5 separate regions of the Homo sapiens genome follow, and regions 1, 2, 4 and 5 are each linked to region 3. Evidence: promoter capture Hi-C in human tissues and cell types (Jung and others, 2019). All regions are on one chromosome and are shown on one strand. The core of a region is centred on a gene start or on the middle of the fragment in contact, and the rest is flanking DNA. Distances in the headings are between cores, read along the strand shown.

The links. Contacts are between HindIII fragments. The study calls those that stand out against the background at their distance.
Region 1: a contact is called between a fragment that was not itself captured here and the fragment with the promoter of CLEC7A in region 3, in 2 of the 25 tissues and cell types used here (heart left ventricle and liver).
Region 2: a contact is called between a fragment that was not itself captured here and the fragment with the promoter of CLEC7A in region 3, in 2 of the 25 tissues and cell types used here (liver and lymphoblastoid cells).
Region 4: a contact is called between a fragment that was not itself captured here and the fragment with the promoter of CLEC7A in region 3, in 3 of the 25 tissues and cell types used here (hippocampus, mesendoderm cells and thymus).
Region 5: a fragment that was not itself captured here is called in contact with the fragment with the promoter of CLEC7A in region 3 in 1 of the 25 tissues and cell types used here (neural progenitor cells).

The regions. Positions count from the first base shown.
Region 1 is chr12:9,834,677-9,837,376 of GRCh38, forward strand. The region is part of intron 3 of KLRF1 (killer cell lectin like receptor F1); the gene reads left to right. Among named protein-coding and RNA genes, the nearest start is that of KLRF1, 8.5 kb to the left of the region's middle. The HindIII fragment of the contact is 4,239 bases long and covers 1-2,700 here.
Region 2 is chr12:9,862,820-9,865,519 of GRCh38, forward strand. All of the region lies in intron 1 of CLEC2B (C-type lectin domain family 2 member B), which reads right to left. Among named protein-coding and RNA genes, the nearest start is that of CLEC2B, 5.2 kb to the right of the region's middle. The HindIII fragment of the contact is 5,182 bases long and covers 1-2,700 here.
Region 3 is chr12:10,128,891-10,131,590 of GRCh38, forward strand. CLEC7A (C-type lectin domain containing 7A) reads right to left here and starts at 1,309. Exons shown (of 6, transcript NM_197947.3): 1 at 1,090-1,309. The coding sequence starts at 1,192. LOC105369655 (a long non-coding RNA gene) reads left to right here. Exons shown (of 4, transcript XR_007063208.1): 2 at 2,191-2,350. The HindIII fragment of the contact is 18,210 bases long and covers 1-2,700 here.
Region 4 is chr12:9,795,233-9,797,932 of GRCh38, forward strand. No RefSeq gene overlaps it. Among named protein-coding and RNA genes, the nearest start is that of KLRF1, 31 kb to the right of the region's middle. The HindIII fragment of the contact is 5,298 bases long and covers 1-2,700 here.
Region 5 is chr12:10,529,912-10,532,626 of GRCh38, forward strand. All of the region lies in intron 1 of LOC105369657 (a long non-coding RNA gene), which reads right to left. Among named protein-coding and RNA genes, the nearest start is that of LINC02446, 22 kb to the right of the region's middle. The HindIII fragment of the contact is 6,729 bases long and covers 1-2,715 here.

The DNA of each region.
Region 1 (2,700 bases), core at 27-2,526, 290 kb before region 3:
AAGGACTAAGAATTGGGAGGACCCAGTACATCCAATTAGAGAGTGTCCAAGGGCGTTCAGCATAATTACTTGCTTGGTTGGCAAGTTTTTGGACCCTATCCTTGAGTTTTCTTATGTTGTCATACACCAGGCCAGATTGATTTAGGTAAAAACAACACTCTTCATTTAAGAATATACAGAGTCCTCCTTTTTCAGCAGTGAGTAAGTCAAGGCCTCGGTGGTTTTGGAGGATAACTGCAGCTAAAGAGTCAACTTGGGCCTGGAGGACTGATAAAGTTTGTGATATGTCTGTGATGCTAGCAGAGAAGACACTAGAGAGGCTATGGAAGGTCGTGACAGAGGTTGAAATGCCTCCTATTCCAGTACCGAGAGCAATAGTGGAGGCAGAAAGTCCTAAACCAACAAGCAAGGGAATTAGTGGAATAACTCTTTTTTGTCGTGTTGGTGTCATGAGGGGAACAGGGAGCTCTTCGGTCCTATTTGCAAATTGAATTTTGGGAGTAAGGAAAACTAGTGTGCATGTACCTGTCCAATTAGCAGGTAGACACATGGAGGTAGAGGATCCACAGAGGAAGAAGAGACCTTGTGCGAGGCAAAACTGGAGATGCAAAGTAAAAAGATGAGGAGTGCTGAAAGGGGTGTCTTGTACCCAGACTCCTGGGGATCCAGCTAGGGCGGCAGCCACCAGAGGTTGTAATGGGGACTGGTGGGGTAACTGCGTAGAGGGGGAGGTTCGATTTTCATGGTATATGAGAAAATGTTGAGTGTCTATGAGCTACCTTTCACTGTTATTTTCGGGGCTGGGTATAAGTAAACAAGAAGAGGGCCTGGGAGGAGGGTCTGATGAGCAAGGGGAAGGTAGCCGAGGATGGAGTGAAATACAGGGTAAGTGTCTTCCTAAGCAATAATTACTGCTAATATTTTTAAGTTTGCCAGTATTGATAGAGGGCTTTTCTGTAATACGGAGCTGGAAGGCTCCAATTGTTTCGGTGACATGCATAGCTGGACTTTGGAGATGAAGAGTAAAGGAACATGGAGAAGGTGAAGGGTTACTAGGGGAATTCCAGTGGGTCTTTGCCGAGAGATACATAAAGGAGTGGCCACAGGAATAGGAATAGTAGTTTGTGTTGTGAGAGGTCCAAATATGGGGGGAGTAGAGTTGATATAAGGAGAAAGGTTTTTTAAGTAAGTGTGGAGGAGGGCGGCAGCTTGCTGATATGAAATGTCTGGGGAGGTCTTGCTGGACCTGTCTAGAAAGTAAATGAGTTCTTCAGGAGGGTAAAGGTGAGGGCTGTTAAAGGAAGTTCAGAGGTATAGGGAGACAGATGTTGCCCAGTCTACATGTAAGGTGGGGGCAGCTGTGTAGGCGCTGGAAGAAAGGGAAATGCAAAGCCAGCAGTTGTTCAATAAGGAGAGATTAGAAATGGCTAGGAGAGAATAAGTAACGTTGGTAGTGTGGTGGAGATAGCTGGGGAGAGGTAGAGGGTGACATAAGAATGGGAATGATCCCTTCATTCTATTAGGTCTGTTTGTCCTTACCCTACTTTTTGCAACAGGGCTTTACGAAGTTACCCCCACTACTTGGACCGAGCCCCAAAAACTAGTCATCCCTACTATCTTCTGTCTAGTCATACTCCTATTCACCATTCTCAACTACTTATAAATGCCCTACTCTTGTTTACACTGCCGGTTTACACTGTTTTTCCAAGCCATCACAGCTGATATCTCTTGGTGCTATCCCCAAACCGCCAGTCTTAACTCCCTCTTAGAGTGGATAGGTGATCTTTGCTGGCAGGGGACCCTCCAATACTTCCACCCTGATGAAGTTCTATTCTTTACTTTTAAGTTTAACTTTTTGATACTTAACTGATCATTTTGACATTTGTTTTATTGTATGAGATGATATATTATGACTTTCCAGATAAATGTATAATTATTATAAAAGGATTTTTTTCTAATCTACTAGTTCGTATTTCCTCCTTTATCATACGTGAAAATTTTATATATTTTATGTTCTACTTATTGACACTGTCTTCATTTGGCTTATCTGTCTGTTTTACAGGTATATTTCCCAAACTAATAGATATTGTAGCTTTACCTCATATTTTATTGTCTCCCTATCTGTAATGTCTGTCACTGTGTTGGGTATCATTGCAATGACACCTTAGAAAAATTAAGGCGGCTTTGGTAGGTAAACATGGAATCATGTACATGGCAGTAAACATTAATTAAAGTAGGTATAAATACTGTATATTGAGCTACAATATATTTATTTCCTATTCCTTTTCTTAGCTGAGGTACAATTCAAAATTTGAACCTTTAAAAGTAAACAATTTCATGATGTTTAGAACCTTCAAACGTTGTGAACTACCATGTTTATCTAGTTGAAAAACTTTTCCCAAAAATAAATCCCTTACATACCCAACAAGCAAATCACTCTCCATTCTCTCTCCCCTTAGCCTCTGACAACTACAAATCTTCTTTCGGTCTATATGGATTTACCTATTCTGGATTTTCATGGAATAGAATCACACAATATTTGGCCTTGGGCTTCTTTCACTTAGCATAATGTTTTTAAAGTTCATCCACATTTTATTCCTTTTTATGGGTGAATAATAGTCCATTGTGCATGTATATCTATAAATATAGATACATATATACTTATATGTATCTCTATATCTATAAATACATATATATTTA
Region 2 (2,700 bases), core at 33-2,532, 270 kb before region 3:
TCCCTGCAATCTTTCCGGTACCCAAGGGCATGGAAACATCATTTCTATACTGGAAAAAGTGAGATCAAGATGGATAACCAGCTTCCCCACCAGCTTGAGTTTCCTGGCAGGAAACTTGCCCCTGCCTTAACACTTGGGAAGCATCGGGGTGCCTGAACGAGGACAGGCAGAGACAAAGTGGGGAGGCAGGACTACCATCCCCAATACCAGAAACTGTGCTCTGTTACTTGGCCAAAGGAGATGTCAACTTAGAGTGGCTGTCGAGCAGCATCATGGTATAGGAGGTTTGTTGCACAGGTCCCCTGGGCTGGAACACCTCGTCAGTCTTCCCACACTACTGGGATATCCCCTTTGGAAGCACCCTCATTTGGTATGAGTGGCACTCTAATTGTTTACTAGAACCAAGGCAAACCTGGGTTAAGGCACCATGTAGTCATAACAAGGAGGCCGAAACCTAGCTGCCGCCCCCCACCCCCAAAAAAATCGACAGGTAAATTACAAGGAATATTTAAACAAACATATTCAATGTAAACCAAAACAAGCCATATAAAATCCTTCAACACAAAGACATAGATGCATATCCATAAGAAACAACAGCAAACAGGGAACTGCGATACCCCTAAATGGACAAAGTCGGAATCAGAGACAGATCTTAATGAAATGGCAATATGTGAGCACTTGTACCAAGAATTCAAAATAGTAGTTTTAAGAAAACTCACTGGTCTCTAAAATAACACAAAAAACAATTCAGAAATATATCAGAGGAATTTAACAAAGGGATTGAAATAATTTTTAAAAATCAAAAAGTGATATTGGAACTGAAAAATACATTTGCTGAACCGAAAATTTTATTAGCGGCTCTCAAAAGAGAATGGATCAAGAAGAAGAAATAATCGGTGAGCATGAGGATGGGCTTTTGAAAATACACAAGGAAAGGAGAAAAAAAGAATAAAAAGGAAGGAAGAATGCCAACATCTTGTAGAAAATTACTGCAAAAGACCATATCTAAGAATTATTGGTGTTTAAGAGAGAGTCAAACCAGAGCAAGAGGTAGAAAGCTTATTCAAAGAAATAATAACAGAAAGTATTACAAAGCTTGAGAAAGAGATAAAGATTCAGGCAGATAAAGGTCAGAGAACACCAAACAGATTCCGACCCCAACAAGACTACCCCTAGGCATAGAATAATCAAACTCTCAAAGGTCAAGGAAAAAGAGAGGATCCTAAAATCAGCAAGAGAAGAGAAGCAAATAATATTTAAAGGAGCTCCAATTTATCTGATGATAGACGTCTCAGTGGAAACCATACAGACCAAGAGAAAAGTGATGACATTTTTTAAGTGCTGAAAAAAAAAAAAAACCCTGCCATCTAAGAATACCATATCCTGCAAAGCTGACCTTCAAATATGAAGAAGAGACAATGTTTCCCAGACAAACAAAAACTGAGAGAATTCACCACCACCAGACATATCTTATAAGAAATGCTAAAGGGAGTTCTTCAACCAAAAAGAAAAAAACACACGAACAGAAAACAGCTGAATATCTAAAATACACTGATAAAATTAAGTGTATGCACAAACCCAGAATACTCTAATACTGTAATTGTGGTGCACAATCTTCTCATATCCCTAGTAATGAAGACTGGAAGATAAATCTATCAAGAACAATGATAACTGCAGAAACCAGTTAAGAGGTAAGCAATAAAAATATGTGAATTGGGAAAACTAAATTAAAAATGTGTGAGGGTGGAGTAAAAGTGTTTTTTTCCTTTGTTGCTATTCTTTGTGATATAAGTTGTTATCTCTTTAAAATAACTTGTTATATCTATAAGATTTTTTATAAGCCTCATAGTAATCACAATGCAAAACCTATAGTAGAGTCATTAAAAATAAAAAGCAACTAATTAATATATACCACCAGAGAAAATTATATAACCCCAAAGAATGACAGTAAGAAAAGAAAAAAGAGAGAAATTTAAAAACAACCATAAAACAAGCAACAAAACAGCCCCAGAAAATCCTTACTTAACAATAACATGGAATTTAAATGAACTCAACTCTCCAATTAAAAGACATAAAGTGCAGGCCGGGTGCAGTGGCTCACGCCTGTAATCCCAGAATTTTGGGAGGCCAAGGCAGGCAGATCATTTGAGGTCAGGAGCTCAAGACTAGCCTGTCCAACATAACGAAACCACATTTCTACTAAAAATACAAAACTTAGCTTGGTGTGGTGGTGTATGCCTGTGATCCTGGCTACTCAGGAGGCTGAGGCAGGAGAGTCGCTTGAATCCAGGAGTTGGAGGCTGCAGTGATCTGAGATCATGCCACTCCACTCCAGCCTGGGCAATAAAGCAAGACTCTCTCAAAAAAAAAAAAAAAAAAAAAGCATAAAGTTAAAGTGGCTGACTTGGTAAAGAGAAAACCCTAACTGTATGCAGCCTACAGGAAATCTGCTTCACCTATAAAGACACACAGAGAATGAAAGTGAAGGGGATGAACAAAGATATTCCATGCAAATAGAAACCAAAAAAGCCGGAGCAGCTATACTTATATCAGATAAAATAGATTACAAAACTTTAAAAGACTACTTTAAAAAGAGACAAAGGTTACTATATAATGCTAAAGAGGTCAATTCAGCAAGAGGATATGACAGTTCTAAAAATCTATGGACCCAACACCAGATCTCCCAAGTATATAAAGCAA
Region 3 (2,700 bases), core at 59-2,558:
TCTGGTGTCAAAACCGACAAATGATCTCTCTCTCTCAAAGATAATAGGGAACTAATTTTGTATGAACATTGCCATAACCAGAATGTATTTCTGCTTTCCACTGTGACTAAGCTGTCAGGACATTTCATAGAATTGTCACATAGGAGAATCGTAGAGTAGGCTAAATCACCCATTCTATGAATACAGAGATCCTCCAATGCCCTTCTTTCTATTTCATTTCATTTACACTTTGTTTAAGACTCATGTCCTGCTGGTGGGATGTTTTTATCTACCATATGTTCATATATTTTCCATCACTGGTATACCAATAATTGTTTTTTGTTTAAAAACAATTTAAATTAATCTCTTACCACAAAAAAAAAATGTTGTTCATATATATACTTCTTTAAGTTTCCTGGCCTCCATTCGATAATCTAGCCTTTCTATCAAACAAGCAACAAGTCACTCATACAGAAATCCTTTATCTTTGTGTATTATCCCACTTATTACCAATTCCTCACTGATGAAATGTCTATATCTATAGAAAAGAGAAATTCTATTTTCTGCCATCAGACATAATTAATTTAAACACTAATAATTGGTCACTGAATAATTTTCATGAAAAAAGGTTTAGGGTGCATTCAATTTATCTTCAGTGACATCTGAAGCCTTTAAAAGTATATCCATAAAAATATACACATCACGAGGCTCTCAAATTTTCTCCCCTTATATCTTTTTGTTTTGTTTTTATTTTTATTTTTTTTCAGAGATGGAGTCTTGCTCTGCCACCCAGGCTGGAGTGCATTGGCATGATCTTGGCTCACTGCAACCTCCACCTCCCAGGTTCAAGTGATTCTCCTGCCTCAGCCTCCCAAGTACCTGGAACTACAGGCGTGCACCACCATGCCCGGCTAATTTTTGTATTTTTAGTAGAGACAGAGTTTCACCACGTTAGCCAAGCTGGCCTCGAACTCCTGACCTCAGTCAATCCACCCGCCTCGGCCTCCCAAAGTGCTGGGATTACAGGTGTGAGCCACCATGCCTAGCCTCCCCTTATATCTTTTCAAACGGGAGAGCTAAAGGCACACATTAGAAAAAACATATATATACCTTTCTCTGAAACAACAGCTATCCTGGTATTGCTTTGAGAGTCGAAGTGTAATTGAGTATATCCATCTTCATCCAAATTTTCTAAATCAGGATGATATTCCATTGTTCTTGAGAGCCCCTGAATAGATATAGCATTTGGGAGCTCTTTTCTTTCTGCTCCTGAGATGACTGTCTGTGGACAAAAGAGAATCTCTGAGTCAAATCATGTGGGCTAGGTACTTACCGGAGTTTAACAAATTAAGCTTAAGTAGTTCAACCAGATATTCAAGAGCAGGAAATGAAACTATGCTGTGGTAATTTTCCATTTGTACCTTTAGATCCTGTTTCTGAGACTGCTGACTCAGGAAAACTAAAAGGCAGCATAGCAGATGAGTCTTTGTTTCAGACCAAATGTAAGAAAAATGCATACATTAATGTCTTATGCTGCCTTCATTACTCTCACAACTAAGTCTGACATTAATTAATTTAACCGATGCAAACTATTTCAGTTTTGGTGCTCCAAGTTTACCATAACTTTGTTCATGTATTTATTCATGTATTTTTTAAATTACATAAACAGGTACTGGATGCCCACCTTTTCAATTGGTAGGAGCTTACAATACAAGGAAAAATGATACCTATGAAGAAACTCATTGCTTAATAAAGGAAATATATAGATAGGTAAATGAGGGATGGCATGAGGAGATGCATTGTTGTAACAACAGACAGAGAAAACAAATCTCTTTGGGAATTATCAGATATTAACACAAAATAACATTTATTGAACAATTACTATGAGCTAAGTACCACATGTTGTACATATTTTCTTGTTCAATCTCACTTTTCCAAGTCTATATAGTAGGCATTATTATTTCTATTTTCAAATGAAAAAATGAGACAGAAAATTTAGCCTCTTTCTCAGGTTTAAGAAGCTAATTTTAAAAATTTAGAGCAAGGAATCAAATCAAAGCTGACTCTTGCTGCAAAACTCGTGGTCTTTTCTGTTACGCTACACTGCCTCTTTCATCATTCCATACACTTATATTGCAAGGAACAGCTTATGGAAGGTGTTGGGACTGAAATATTATGTTAGATGTTTGATTTTTTTTCCCTCTCTTCCAGTTTCCATAGTAATGATCAAATCAAAGAAATATAGAAAACACCTAACATTGCTGGAAACTGAAGAGGTGTTCAACTCATTTATCCGACCTTGAAGCCAGTAGAGTGCAGGAGACATCTGAGTGTTGTCAAGGATCAACAAATCTGGATACTAGTTAATGTGGTGAGGACAGGTTTTATTCAGTAATACTATTGCAACAGGAACCAGTGCAGCATTAACTGAACTCAACTTCCCCAAAAGTAAAGCTGATGACATTTTAAAGTGGAGTTTGCTAAGGAAAAGATACTGAGTGGTGTTAAGGAAAGTTAATGTGACTAGACTCTCTGGATTTGTTAATTGGCCCTTATCCAGAGGACAGAGAAACTTTGCCTATCTATATGACAGAAGGACATGGTGATAGTTGAAGTGAAGCACCCAGCTAAGTTGGTCCTTATGCTGCATCTGAAAGAAAGAGCAAGATTTATCTCCCTGAATGTTTGCATTTCAAAGAAACAGCTCCCAAGTCCTTGAAG
Region 4 (2,700 bases), core at 197-2,696, 330 kb before region 3:
TTCTGTCTTGAAGCAATGGTAAAGAACTCCCTGGACCCCCATATTTATGCCTGGACCCTGCTTTGTTTCTTCAAGGCACTTTTCCTCCAGCCGAATTATTAGTATAAGATTGTTCTGTTTGCTGCCTATCTCCCTTCATTTGAATGTAAGCAGCATAAGGGCATCAGTTTTCTTGTACTAATTGCTATATACCTAGTGCCGAGAACATTGCCAGGTGATAGCAGATGTTCAATAAGTATTTGTTTAATTAATACAGACATCGATGTGTACATATGATAGTGAGCGAGAGTGGGTAGATCGAGGATGATTATATTAAAAGATGTGATCAGAGAGGACTTCTCTGAATAATCCAGATTTCTTCTAGATTTCTCATTTGTAAGTATGGTAGTGCTCCTGAGAGAAAAAGGCACTGCAGACGTGATATGCAGATAGCAAGTCCAAGAAGTAAGAAGCAGAAGCCTTCTTACCTTCGTGTACCATATATTCTCTTTGGTTTTACCCTGCTTTGAAAGGTACCGTGACTCTGTACCTCTCAAAATTTCATTTCCAGTGGTCCAATATATACTCAGCCTGAGCTCGCTGAAAAATCTCCAGCTCTTTTTTTCTGGGCAGGTGATATTGGCAGCATCCTGGCCAGGAGGTCTAGCCTGAGAAATAGAACTTTTTCAAATAGCGTGTCTTGTATTGATTCCTCTTGTTGCATCAGTTAACCACCAAACATTTATCATGATTTAAGTTTACATCCTCAACACTTTTCATATATTTTCTACAGGAGAATGGTGGAAATCAAGGAGGGGGAGTATGTCAACCACTGGAATACTGTGAGGACGAACGCATTGGCTTTTACATGGGTTTTAGGAAGAACCACATGATTGACAGTGTCAGTCCACATCCCTTCTGATTATCCACAAATTAAAAATTGAGCTGAGATCTGAATGGTGATTGAATTTGTCTGGGAAGACACTACCATTGTTGTTTTGATTGTCATTATTTAATATCTGTCATTTAAAGACCCCACCATTTTCTTCCTTTAGGAGGAAAAACCATCTTGGCTTTTCTGCTGTAATTATTCTTCTGGATAACTCTCAGAATAATTTTTGTTCTGATTTTGTCAAGGTATTAAATAATTACTGATATGTTGCTATATTATATATTTAATTTTCGGTTTTCTTCTTACCGGGCTTCTCAGAAAAATTTGACGTAATTGATCTTTACTTTTCCTTTATACACTTCCTTCCTTTGGTTGCTAGAGAAGTAGTATCGATAATACTAGTGATATCAACATCACCATCTTTACCACTTCTAATGCTGCCGCTGACTCTACCACTATCAATCTCTTCATGTGAATTACACATAAGGGTTGTTTTGTGTTTCATATTAACTTTCTTAGGTGTTTTCTTTAAAGTACTCATAATTGTAACTATAATATGCAGTTTCCTATGTAATCATTTGATAGTGGAGGATTTATGGTGAATTATTTTCATGAGACTGCCTGAAATTTTATACTCTCTGGTTAGAGATCTTTTGTTAATTTCTTCCCATAAGTGTGTGTGTGTGTGTGAATTTCATTTTAAAGAAAAAATGAGAAAAAATTTATTTCCAGGACACAGAATAAATTGGAAACAGACATACTTCTGTCTGTTTTTTTTCACTGCTCATTTTATTCAATTCAAAACAATATAAACATTCAGATACTCTTTGAGCTGGTTTCAGGATTTTAGACCTCTGTGAATAATTTTTTTTCTTCTTTTTTACGAGTATTCCAACCACATTTTTGGGGGGAGCAGGCATATTCATTTTGCTGTTGAAATTATGGCAAAAACTGCAATGACTTTTGCACCAATCTAATACATGCTGTCGTTTACAATTAGGTAGCTTTCAAAAGGCAGGGGCCGGCGATCAGCCTTTTATGCATCTAATCTTGGGTAACAAGGACTGGCTGTAATGAACTGTAATGATAACTCCATTATAACTTCAGCTAAAGTATGTGTTGCATATTGTTTTCTTCGTAAATGTTAAACAGGAAGTAAGCATCATTTAGGACAAGGAATTCTCAGAAAAAAAAAATAAACACCACATTGAACGTTTACACAAATTTTAGTGGAACTTACTTTGGCGCAATGCCTAACAGAGTAAGTTACTAACTCTCTTTTTTATTCCTTAAAGAAAGAAAGAAAATAAATGAATTTACAGTAATGTTGGAGTTTTCAGGCCTATTGAAGATTTGGGATAGATTGTGCTAGAACAGATTGACATTGACAGATTTCAAGTTCCTTTTGCAAGTTATTTTACTTTGTATTTTAAAGAGGCAATATGTTTATAAAGCAATCAAATTAGCCTATTTGTGGCATATAAACTTTTTATATAATAAAGCTGGGAAAAAGAAACTCTAATTTCTTTACCAGCTTGAGGGCAATTGACTCTAATACAAGAGGGTTCCTAATCATTAACATATATGTTTATTTGCATTCATAAACTTGAAATGCATATTCAGTTGTCTTATTTGGTATTTAATAGTAGGGGGATATCCTAAATCAAAATTACTTTAATTTATATAATTGTAATCATTTCAATGTTTTTGGAGGGGGAGATAATCCTAAAAACTAAAATTTAAAAGATGAAACTATTCATTATTCCTGCTGTATAACAGATGGTGAATGCAGGCACATAATAATAGGCAGTGTGGCAATACTGAGCACA
Region 5 (2,715 bases), core at 203-2,702, 400 kb after region 3:
CCTCAAATTCCCCAGTTCCAAATGTATCATTTAACCAGAATGCATTTAATAGCATTTGTATATGTTATGAACCATAACAAGTGTCAAATGGATTCTAAAAATTAGTCCATAACATATTTATAGGAATGTGTTGCTTCCACTCTTTTTAAGAGTTGTATAGGCTTACATTTATCATCATTTAATATTAATAGAGCAACTGATATACACCTGTCCCTAAAAGTATGGGGCAAACCACCAAAGACAGGTAATTATTAACAATTTTAGTTTTTGGCATTTTAATACTAAACTTCAAGGTTTATTAAATAAAATAAATATAAGAGGTTCTTGAAAATCTAGCAAACTATATAGGCTTAGATATTTTATCAACAATATCTATAAAATATTATTGTCAGAGTATAGGTATATCATATCTATTTTCTTTTAAGGATTTTAACTTTGTAACTATTTTGAATAAAGGATGAGGTTATTATTAATTGGTTGATTATAAAGACCATTTTCCCAAAGCTTTCCTCTCTCCTTAAAACACCCACACACTTTTGTACCCAAAAATATCAATGTATTTTTAATGTTTCTTCAATTGTTTCCTATACTTCTTTTCTACCTCAACTTGTGTTTATCTTTTAATGTCCACTGAAATTATATTTATGTTCACCAAGTCTAGCCAGTATTAAATTTTTTAAAAACTGAAATGACATTTAATAAAAGAATAAAGTTAATAGAAATCAAGATACAACCCCAAGATGAAATAAGTGAATAAGCACATAAAATAAGAGAGAGAGATAGAGGCTCATGATAACATGAATAGAACACAGCAGAATGATATCAGGATATAGCTGAATTAATGTGAACTTTATAATATAGCAGGCAGCATGCATAAAATTTTGAAATGATTTTTCAAAAACAAAAACAAAAATCCAAGAGGTAATAGGTTTTTATTTTTTATTTTTAATATTGTGTATTTCCTATATACTGTTATTTTCACCTATCTTTAAAATTTTTAAATTGGTAAAAGTTAGGTGACTGTAGCTTAGCTTCTAAGGCAAAGGGAGAATCTTTAGTTCAGTAAACCTGTCACCAAAAACAAAACATTATATAATAAAAATAGGGATTGTTTTTCTCATATTTTGCATTTTTACATATCTTTAATTGTATTTCCTGTTTTAAACTGACAGTTATGAAATAATGGTCAGTTATGGTTTATATGAAATAATGGATGAGTTTGAATATATGAAATAATGGTTGAGTTATGTTTTATACAGAAAATACCAAAATGACTCTCTTATGTTTTCTAGTGACCAATTTTTAATGTCATTTTGATGGAAGCAATAATGCAAAAAAAACTTTAAAAAATTTTTGGTTTTCCAGAAGTATAGATACTGAGTCTATCATTACTTGAGGTGTTTAATAAAAAATAAGATGGTCATAATTTGGAGATGAAGGAGATGTAATGACCAAATACAATGTGGAGGCCTGGATATGATTCTAGAACAGAAGACAGACATTCATGGGAAAAATGGGTGAAAGCTGAATGACGTTTTCAGCACAGTTAACAGTAACATACCAGTATAGGATGCCTAGTTTTGACAAATGTAAGATGTATCATCTTATGGTAATGTAAGACAATAACATTAGGGGAAAGTGAAACTCACTCAAGGATCTATGGGAACCTTCTACACTATCTCTGCAAGTTTTTTAGAAACCTAAAGTTATCCCTGCAGGATTTAAAAAATACCATGAAAAGGGTAAATCTAAGAGTTATTGGCCTTACAGAGGAAGTAGAGAAACAGAAAGGAGTAGAATGTTTATTCAGAGGGATAATAACAGAACTTCCCAAACCTAGAGAAAGATATCAATATCCAAGTCCACAAAAGTTATAGAAGACCAAGCAGATTTAACCTAAGGAAGACTACGTCAAGCCATCTAATAATCAAACTCTCAAATTTCAAGGATAAAGAAAGGATCTTAAAAGCAGCAAGAGAAAAGAAACAACATACAATGGAGCTCCAATACATCTTCCAGCAGACTTTTCAGTGGAAACATTGCAGACCAGGAGACAGTGGCATGGCATATTTGAAGTGTTGAAGGGGAAAAAAAATAGGCATAAACAGTATAGCTGGTGAAAATATTCTTCAAACATGAAGGAGGAATAAAGACTTTCCAAGACAAAGAAAAGCTGAGTGATTTCATCAATACCAGACATGTCCTATAAGAAATGCTAAAGGGAGTACTTCAATCAGAAAGAAAAGGATGTTAATAAGCAATAAAGCATCTTCTGAAGGTACAAAACTCACTGGTAATAGTAAGTACACAGAACAACACACATATTATAACACTGTTACTGTGGTTTGTAAATTACTCATCTTAAGTAGAAAGAATAAAAGATGAACCAATCAAAATAATAATTACAACAACTTTTCAAGATGTAGTACAATAACACATAAAGAGAAACAACAAAGGTTAAAAAGCATGGAAATGAAGTTAAAACAGAGTTTTTATGAGTTTCCTTTTTCTTGTTAATTCATTTGTATTTGCAAGCAGTATTAAGTTGTAATCAGGTTAAAATAATGTGTTATAAGATAGTATTTGCAATTTTCATGGTAACCTCAACTCAAAAACATGCAACAGATACACACACACACACACACACAAAGCAGGCCAGGTGTTGTGGCTCACACCTGTAATCCCAGCACTTTGGGAGGTCAAGGTGGGCAGATC